2 separate regions of the Homo sapiens genome follow, and region 1 is linked to region 2. Evidence: promoter capture Hi-C in 16 types of primary human blood cells and fetal thymus (Javierre and others, 2016). All regions are on one chromosome and are shown on one strand. The core of a region is centred on a gene start or on the middle of the fragment in contact, and the rest is flanking DNA. Distances in the headings are between cores, read along the strand shown. Region 1 holds the start of TMEM43 (transmembrane protein 43). Region 2 holds the start of SETD5 (SET domain containing 5).

The links. The method cuts DNA at HindIII sites, captures the fragments that hold promoters and counts their contacts. A CHiCAGO score of 5 or more calls a contact.
Region 1: a contact is called between the fragment with the promoter of TMEM43 here and the fragment with the promoter of SETD5 in region 2, in 1 of 17 cell types (monocytes). The highest score is 5.8, in monocytes.

What each region holds. Positions count from the first base shown.
Region 1 is chr3:14,122,154-14,126,301 of GRCh38, forward strand. It overlaps TMEM43 (transmembrane protein 43), which reads left to right and starts at 2,899. Exons shown (of 12, transcript NM_024334.3): 1 at 2,899-3,052. The coding sequence starts at 3,041. It overlaps CHCHD4 (coiled-coil-helix-coiled-coil-helix domain containing 4), which reads right to left and starts at 2,717. Exons shown (of 3, transcript NM_001098502.2): 1 at 2,502-2,717. The coding sequence starts at 2,523. RefSeq lists enhancers at 1-134, 2,342-3,076, 2,944-3,143, 3,077-3,811, 3,244-3,533 and 2 more and silencers at 2,134-2,183, 2,194-2,753. The HindIII fragment of the contact is 788 bases long and covers 2,784-3,571 here.
Region 2 is chr3:9,396,040-9,401,090 of GRCh38, forward strand. It overlaps SETD5 (SET domain containing 5), which reads left to right and starts at 1,576. Exons shown (of 23, transcript NM_001080517.3): 1 at 1,576-1,938. THUMPD3-AS1 (THUMPD3 antisense RNA 1) reads right to left here and starts at 584. Exons shown (of 4, transcript NR_132781.1): 1 at 521-584. RefSeq lists a silencer at 474-1,783 and an enhancer at 2,394-2,443. The HindIII fragment of the contact is 6,018 bases long and covers 1-3,624 here.

The DNA.
Region 1 (4,148 bases), core at 1,649-4,148, 4.7 Mb after region 2:
TTAAGAAAGTGGCATTTAAAAGGATGTCTGAAGCCTCAGGAAGCCTTCTCAGACCCCATAGAGCCTTTCACTAAACGATCATAGCATGCTGGGCTTTTCCTTCATGTCACCTATGACAGTCTGTAATCATGCATTTGTCTGGTGATGTTTTAATGGCAATCTGTTCCACCATGCCAGGAGGGCAGAGAATGTGTCACCTTGCTCACCACTATATGCCCAATGGCTGGCACATCACGTGTGCTCTATAATTGTTGACTGAACAGGAGTTGGCAGGCTCTGCATTAGAAAGAGGAAACTAAGAAAGAAACACTATGGTGCTGACACAGGAGAAGTGTGGCTAGCCCAAGGCCCAGGTGCGAGGCTGAGAGCCCTTGAATGCCAAACCAACGAGTTTAACCTGAAGGCTGGGTAGCAGGTGGACCCCTGAAATAAACTTGTACAGGCAAGTGATTCACTCAGAACAGAGGGCAGGTAAATGCATGATTCAATAAAGATGTGGGCACCCATTGTACACCAAGCCCTGTGCTAGATGCTGGGGATTCCACAGCCCATCTGATGCTCTCAGCTTAGTGCGAGAAGACAGGCAGGAAGTAAGATGGCAAAAAATAAAAAAGGTCATTTCAGACAGTTCAGGATGTGAAAGACACAAAGGGTCAGGAGGTGATATTGGAGCTAAATGTTAAAGGATGAGGAGTCAGCCACGGAAGAGCTGAAGGCAGGATATACCAAACCAAGGGAATAGCCAAGAGGCTAGAGGCTGGGCAGCAAAAGGGTGGGAAGAGACCAGGCTGGAAAGGCAGACAGGGCCAGATCACATAAGCTCTGATACAGTAAGCAGTTTGGGATCATTTTTTAAAAATCCTATGGGAAGCATAAAGGATCAGTGGGGGGCGGAGGGGGGGAAGTTAGGGACTTCTTACGGGGACAGTGGTATGCACAAGATAAATACTAAGGAAGGCCTATAAGTGAGTGCTTTCAATTCTCACTCCTCTCCGAACTAAGAGAGATCTTTGAAGCAGGAAAAGATAGGGCTCCATGTTTTGGAGGCAGATGGACCTAGCCTCCCCTTTCCAGAGAAAACTGCCTCCTGTAAATCCTCAAAGAGGAGGGTCTTGTTTATCAGCACAGCCTCATTATACCCAAAGGCTCAAAAATTATTTGCTAAATGAAGTAAATTAGAGAAAGACTCGAAATTAAAAACAAGAGTGGTGAGGGCAGAGGACTTTTGCTTATGGCACACATTAAGTAGTAATCAGCGGAAATATAATAGTACTCATTAAAGAGTGAGTCTTATGGCTTTACGACCCAGAGGAGGAGAGGTTCTAGAAGCAGACAGCGCCACCAGGGAAAAGGCTCAGAATTTTAGGCTGAGCTAGTCTCCTAACTGGATGTGTAACTACAGGTAGGCCACCTCCTTCTCTGGGCTTCAGATTGCTTGAATTAACTGACGGAGCTGGAGTATTCACCAAAGAATTTCTGGGGGACTTCCAACTCTCTCTGTAGTTTTATAACCATCCATCCCCCTTCTCTGGCGCAGAGAAGGTGCTTCATGAGTATTTGCCGTATCAATGAAGCCCAACATCTCATTTTACAACACTGGATACCAGGGCCTGGAGGGGTTAGGTGGGAGCTCAGGGCCAAGGAGCCAGTTTGTGGCAGTGTGTGGGGAGGCCCTCCGACCTGTGGCTCGGGTACTTCTGAGCTCTTGGGTAGAGTAACATCAAGGAAGCAGTAGGTGGTCGGAGCTCAACTTTGGGGTGGGAGGTAGGCAGGGTTCTCCCTGCAATCCACTGGGCACTAGATTGGATAAGGCTCTTCTGGGGTCACAATGCCCAGGCTCAAACCCCAGCTCCACGATTTGCTGGCTGAGTGGCTTTAGCCATGTCTCCTGTGTCTAACTTTACTCTTCAGTAAAATGTGACCAACAACAGAGCCTGACTTACAAAGGTCGCAGCGAGATCTGTGAGACAAGCCAGGCAAGTTTCCTTGAACAGTGCCTGACAGGTAGCAGGGGGCTCAAAAACATTCCCGTTAGTGGAACTCCTAGCACTCCAGCACAGCACACGCTACCCCGAGTGGCAACTTTTCGGGACGCGCCTTTTAAAGGCGCGTGCAAAATGTAAACACGTGGGGTATGGCAGGAGCGGTAGTGATAATTAACCACCATACATTCCCAGTTTCGAGCCACACGCAACGTGCTCGGCACTTCCCGTGCCCCAACCGGACCTAGTTTACGACTTCCTACGCACAGGCCCCTCTGAGGTCAGGGTTCGGGCTTCACTGTGACCTTGGACCAGCCCCGTTCCCCCCAGAGCTTCGGTTTTCTCATCCGCAAAACAGGAGTAGCGACCCCCCAGCCGGCCCGCCTCCGAGTGTCCCAGGGTGGGCACCTGGGCCGCGCCTCAGGTGGCCCGCGCCCGGCGTGGTCGCGGGGCGCCGGGGCCCGCGTGTCTCCCGCAGGCCCTCGTAGGCCGGTCTCCGTGGCAGCCCGCCCTCCCTACCTTCCTGCCGGCAATAGGACATGGCTGCAGCCCGTCCCTGAGACCTTGCAGAAGCGGCGGTGGCGGCAGCTGCACCTTTACGCCGTGACCTCCCTCTCCTCTGGCAGGGCGGGCTCCTCCGAAGCCCGCGCGGACCCGCCCCCTCCCAGGCCTGCCCGCCGCGCGCCTGCCTCGGCGCCCTCGCAACCGCGGCCAGGCCAACCTCAGCCGGAAACTACATTTCCCAGCAGGTCGCGCGCTCCTCGACAGCTCTCCAGGCAGTAGAAACTACATTTCCCCGAAAGCTTTGCAGTGCGCAGGCGCATCAATGAGGTACTGCAATGTCCCGGACCGTATAGTTTCCAGGACGTCTCGCCGCGCGCATGCGCAGAAACACTGGGCACAGGGGGAGGTAACTGCAGTAAGTCCCGCTTGGCCCTGGAGTCCACGCGGATTTTCGAAGCTGGGGCTGGCAAGAGGCCGCTGGACACCACGCTCCAGTCGTCAGCCCACTTCCTAGCTGAACAGCGCGAGGCGGCGGCAGCGAGCCGGGTCCCACCATGGCCGCGAATGTGAGTATCCCCGGGCCAGCCGGGCCACACCCAGGCTTCCCCGTCGCCCTGGGGCTTTTCCCCGGGGTCCTCTAGGTCCATTTCGCCGCCTGGAGCTCCTCCGTGCGGCTAGGCCCGCATCTCCCTCTGCTCGCCGTGTCTGTGCCTTCGCCAGCTCATCCCTCTGCTCATCTCGCGGCCTGTCCAGGCTTCTTTTGTCCGTGTTCCTTGGCTCGCCTCGTCCTCGGCGTTCGTGCGGAGGCGGACTCGGAGGTGTTGCTCCCGTACTGGGATCTGCTTGTACGCCTCTCCGCGGCCCCTCCTTGCATTCCCAGTTCCCTCCTGTACCTTGGGGCCCTGAAACTTGCGCATTATGAGAGCTGGACGCGACCTCAGAGAGGGCGCCAGTCCCTTGGGAGGGAGGAAGGCGATCCAGCCCAAGTGGAGCTGTCCAGCAATGGACAGACAGGGCTGTCCAGGCGGGCAGAGAGCTCTCCGCCCTAGGGAGTCTCTGTAAACCGAGTCTGTGATGCTCCAAAAAGCTTAGGCTGGGCTGGGAGCGAAGGAGTTGGGGGAGAGGGAGCATTTCTCTACTGTCGGGGCCCCTCCTCCCCCTAGCAAGGATTTGGTTGGAGGAGGCCTGGCTGAGGGCTGTTCCCTCAAGGCCTCTTCTCCCTGCAACTAGCCTTTCTCGGGAAACTATTTAAGCCCAACATTCATTCAACAAGCAGCGCCTCCTACCAGGGCGCTGGGTGTGGGAGAAGCTGGTGACTCACCTCTCCCCTCCTCTGTGAAAGTGCTTCTAGGGCCCGCTTAGGAGCCCAGCCAGCCCCAGACACACCCTCCCTCCTGCTTTGGTAGAGTGTCCTAGCAGCTCTCCCCTTGCCTGTCACACCCTATTTCCAGACACCGCCTCTGTCCCCAAGCGTCCTCTCTGCCTCCCACACCCCTTGAGAGGCCAGGGTGTGCATCACCCACAGCCCTAGTACACTTTGTCTCGGGTTAGTATCATCCACACTCCCAGGACATTTCGGGCCCACAGGAGGGTTAGAAGCCTTGAATGTTGTACCTAGAAAAGCCTCAGAGGTATTCGGAGAGACTCAGGCTCGGCCAGGCG
Region 2 (5,051 bases), core at 326-2,825:
AAGTAGTGATAATCCGCAGTCTCGTTGCATAAAATCAGCCCCAGGTGAATGACTAAGCTCCATTTCCCTACCCCACCCTTATTACAATAACCTCGACACCAACTCTAGTCCGTGGGAAGATAAACTAATCGGAGTCGCCCCTCAAATCTTACAGCTGCTCACTCCCCTGCAGGGCAACGCCCAGGGACCAAGTTAGCCCCTTAAGCCTAGGCAAAAGAATCCCGCCCATAATCGAGAAGCGACTCGACATGGAGGCGATGACGAGATCACGCGAGGAGGAAAGGAGGGAGGGCTTCTTCCAGGCCCAGGGCGGTCCTTACAAGACGGGAGGCAGCAGAGAACTCCCATAAAGGTATTGCGGCACTCCCCTCCCCCTGCCCAGAAGGGTGCGGCCTTCTCTCCACCTCCTCCACCGCAGCTCCCTCAGGATTGCAGCTCGCGCCGGTTTTTGGAGAACAAGCGCCTCCCACCCACAAACCAGCCGGACCGACCCCCGCTCCTCCCCCACCCCCACGAGTGCCTGTAGCAGGTCGGGCTTGTCTCGCCCTTCAGGCGGTGGGAACCCGGGGCGGAGCCGCGGCCGCCGCCATCCAGAAGTCTCGGCCGGCAGCCCGCCCCCGCCTCCAGCGCGCGCTTCCTGCCACGTTGCGCAGGGGCGCGGGGCCAGACACTGCGGCGCTCGGCCTCGGGGAGGACCGTACCAACGCCCGCCTCCCCGCCACCCCCGCGCCCCGCGCAGTGGTTTCGCTCATGTGAGACTCGAGCCAGTAGCAAGGGCCCGGTCCCACAGCTTCGACAGCCAATCAGGTGTCGAAGACAAGCAGGCGGCGGGTAAACCGACTCCCCCGAAGGAAGGGGAGGGTGGGAGGACGCCCGCGCCAGAGCCGATTTCACTGACCCTCCCCTCCCGCCGCAGGAGGCCGGCCGCGCCCGCACACCCAGCATCTCTACACCCCACCTACCTACCCGCCCCACCCAGGGGGCAACGCGAGAGTCGCTAAGCGGCTGCGTACTCCCGACGGCGTAACTGACAGGAGCTTTACTCCAACCAGAATACGCCATTTGTGTTTTCACACACGGCGGGAGGAGAAACGGCCAATCGGCGACAAGAGGCTAGCCGGAAGCGCTCCTCCCTCTGCGAGAGCAATGGCTCCGTCCGGTTTCGAGCATTTTCCGCTCCCTTCTCCCTCCCCCTCCGGTTGCCGCAGGGCGGGCCTCCCTCCCGCCTGCATCCAGCCACCCCTTTCCCTCCCAACGTAACAAACATTATGTTCCCGACTTCCCACGGGAAAGGCAACCCCCGCAAGCCACCAGACGGCCCCCCTAGCCACCCATCCCCCCAGTGTACCGCACCTCCCCTCCCACCAGAGTTCCGCTCCCCTACCTAGCCGAGGCTCTCTGAGGAGCCGGAGCGCCGAAGCACAGCCTCTTCTCTAGGCGGCCCCGGCGGCTTCCGCTGATTGGCGGCGAGTGGGCCAATGGGTGCGGGGCGGTGGGCGGAGAGGCCAATGGCGCGGCGGGAGGGGGCGTGTCCCGGGTGCCCCTGGCGCCGGCGCTGGGAATCCCCGTGCGGTCAGTGGCGTTTCCGCTCGGGCAGCGGGCTGAGTGAGCTGCCGCCGCCGCCGCCGCCGCCGCCGCCGCCGCCGCTGCCGGGGGAGGGGCGGCCGCCGCCCGCCTGCGCTCAGAGACTCACGCAGCCCCAGTCCCGCCAGTCCGCCAACACAGTAGTGCCGGCCCCCCTCTTTCCCTGGCCCTGCCCCCCCTCCCCGCCTTTGGCTCGCTCCGCCTTTCTGCCCCCCACCCCCACCTCACGGGTACGGGCCATTCCCGGCCAGGAAACGCCGTGGCGCCGCGTTGGGCCTAACTCGAGTCCTGCCGCCTCCCGGGAGTGCCGTGCGCCGCAGCCCGGGCCCAGGCCCCGGCAGCGCCTGGGACAAGGTAAGGGTCCGACAGAAAAGAGACCGAACCTCACGATCGGGCCCCAGGGGAGGGAAGGGTCACCTCCTCCGTCTCCCCGCGCTCGCTCTCCTTGGGTCGTGGGCCTGGCCCTCCCCAAGCTCTTAGGAGGATGCTGCCACTTCTCACCCCCCTCGCCGCCTTGCACACACCGTTGCAACACCCCATTTTCCCAGGGAGAGAGATCCCCCTCTAATCTAGGCGACCCAACTCCCCCTTTCATGTTTTTCCTGGGTCAGGACGCTTCCCCTCCCCCAACGCCTCTTCACCCCCTTTCCTGGGAACTGCCTACTCCACGTTTACCTTTCCCTTGAGGAGAGGCCTCTTGCTGCCCTCCGCTCGAAATACACAGGCATACTTTTTTTCTCTCCCCGATCCCCCACTCCCTACCCCCGTTCTCGCGGCCTTGTGACAGACAACTCTGATCGCTCTGGGGGCCGCGATCTCCCCTCCGTAATCTTCCTGGACGCCTTCCCTCTCGTTTTCTGGCTTCCCACCTCAGATGGCTGCTTCCCAAAGGCATTACCTTCGCCACCCCCACCACACGTTCTCTGGCTCCCCGTGGCGTGTGCCACAGCGTGTCTGAGATAGCCTCGTTGAATGTGTAGGGTTCGAGCCTGGAGTTGAGCCAGATTGTGTCGTTTTACTTGCCTTGGGCGTGGAGAACGATCTTGTGAGAATATCTTCAAAGGCAGAAAAATATTCCCTTTATGAATTCTCTTTCCCTCTGCGTGTAAGTCGGGAATGTGAAGAGGAGTGTAGGAAAGAGCCCTGGTTCAAGTAGGTAAATCGCATGAGAGGGAAAGTTAAACTGTTGGGAAAGCCCCTTCTATGCTAATTGATTCTATAGAGTCCTTGCTTGTCTCACTTCTTGGGCGTCAGTGGTCTTTCTCTTGGATATGGATGCTGCAGTCAGCTCTGCTGGTCTGGGTCAGGGGTGCGTGTATGACCTGCATTTTCTGCTTTCTCATGTTACTTGTGCAATGTATTCACCGGTAACTCATTTCTTTCCCAGACCTCTGGGTTCCACTGGGCTTTGTCTATATTTAAGTTCATTTCTCCAGTTTCCTTCCTGCACATAGGTACTGAACGAATCCCCAAGTTCTGTGCTAATTACCTTCATCAGTTGACTAAACAAGTTTTTAGATGACATATTTGTGACCAAGGTCATATTTACATTTCTTTGTTGGACAGATGTTACATAGCTATACTTGTGATTGGGGAGGATCCAGCTGAGTGGAGTGTGCTGAGCTTTTTAGGAGAGTGTGTACTCCCTATTTGAAATTATTTTTTGGTTGTTAATTTTATATTATTAATGTTTTTAGGTCACAGAAAGTTCTAAGTGGTAATTTTAGATGTGTGGGATCTGAGCTAGGACTAAAGCAGAGAATACCCACGTAATCAGAGGTTTCTGGGCTCCATAGAGGACGTAGGGCTTTTTTTTTTCTATTGGATTTCTTCCAGTTTTCTCAGGATCATTAGTTCTCTTCTGTAGCCAAAAATTCTGGCCTGTTATGGGATTAGAGTCTTTAAGGTTTACTCAGACTGTCATTATGTGTAGAAAAATGAATTATGCCCTTTGGTAGGACATGACACAAGGCTCTGTTTCTAGCTGCAAATTTAAATTAGATTGTAGAGTGCTTGGGAAATTGGCTTTCAAAAGACCAAAGCTTAATCTTCACTCCTAAACTGCTGGCTTAATTAAAATGGATATTTAGAATTTGGTAAATGTTGATTTTTCTAATAAAAGGCCTTGGTTTAAAAGGGTGACCTTAGGATTGTTTCTTTCTTAAAAGCATAATTCCAGCCCTTCTGGCATGGAGCACTGGTCCAAAAAAAAAAAAAAAAAGTGTGTGTAAGGAGTGGGGGTGGGGTAAAGAGAAGGTTGTTCCTTTGGGTTGGATCACAGGGGTGAGTATACAAGGCAGCAGCAGCTGCTGGCTCTGGAGCTCTGGTTGCTACGTGAGAAGCTTGAGTAGTGCTGGCTGCTGTCTCCAGGGAAGGACAGCAGTGCAGCGTCCATTAATGCTGCTGGCTGCAGGGAGCAGCACTTAGGCGATGGCTGCTTCAGGACTAAGAAGAAACCTTGCTTTTCTGGGAATTTTCACTGCTGAGCTGGTTTGCTTTTTATTGGTGGGGAGATGGGAATTAGTAATTCATAATCTCCTACCCATTTATGGATATTGGCATCTGGAAACTGGATCATGGTTAAAGCCTTTCTTTTTTTGTTTGTTTGATTTGATTTTTGTTTTTTGGCAGATTTTTGTTTTTTATCTAGACATTTGTGCTTGGATAGGACTAAAAGTTCCATTAGAGTTTTAATTTTTCAATCAGTTTAAAAACCCAAGTAATAATTTTAAGAATCTTTCTGATAACCACAATAGGAAGAAAATAACAGGAATTTTTTCCTGCAGCTCACATATCATGCCTTCCTCCATCTCTTTAATCATAGAATCAATTCTTATTATTTTGTTATGTGTCTCCATCCTTTCGATTAGACCACATTTACCTTATAGACGATTTGCTAAACATTTTACTAAGCTTGAACTCTTAAACTCTAAAAAGGTGCCATTTTGGAGTGGTTTCTAAATAAATATTTTTAATTTGTATATTAGTAATAAACTTCTCCAGATTAGATATTTTCTTTGGAGTTTGACTTATAAGATTGATTCATTATATACATGTTGGATATAGCCTTCTGACATCACAAATATATGTCTTTGGCCATAATCCATCTGAAATGTAGGACAGACCAGAAGAAATATGCAGAAATCGAATAAGTCTAGTTCAGGATACTGAGAAGATGGCCTCTGAGCCCCTTAGGTGATCTCCCCTCCCCCACAACTCCTGAACATTAGGATGATCTCTGATTAAGCAAAACAGTCTGAGCGTGGAAAAACTTGAAGGAGAACCACCACCACCAATTATATGCAATACTGGACATATTCCTGTGTGCTGTTTTTCTTCCCCAAGACTCGTGTATCCTATACTTTTTTCTCTCAGAATTTTGATTTGTTCATTTTCGTGTAAATGTACTTAAATCTCACAAACATCTATAATTTGTAGTATCACTCTGGCATTTGTGGCAGAGAACC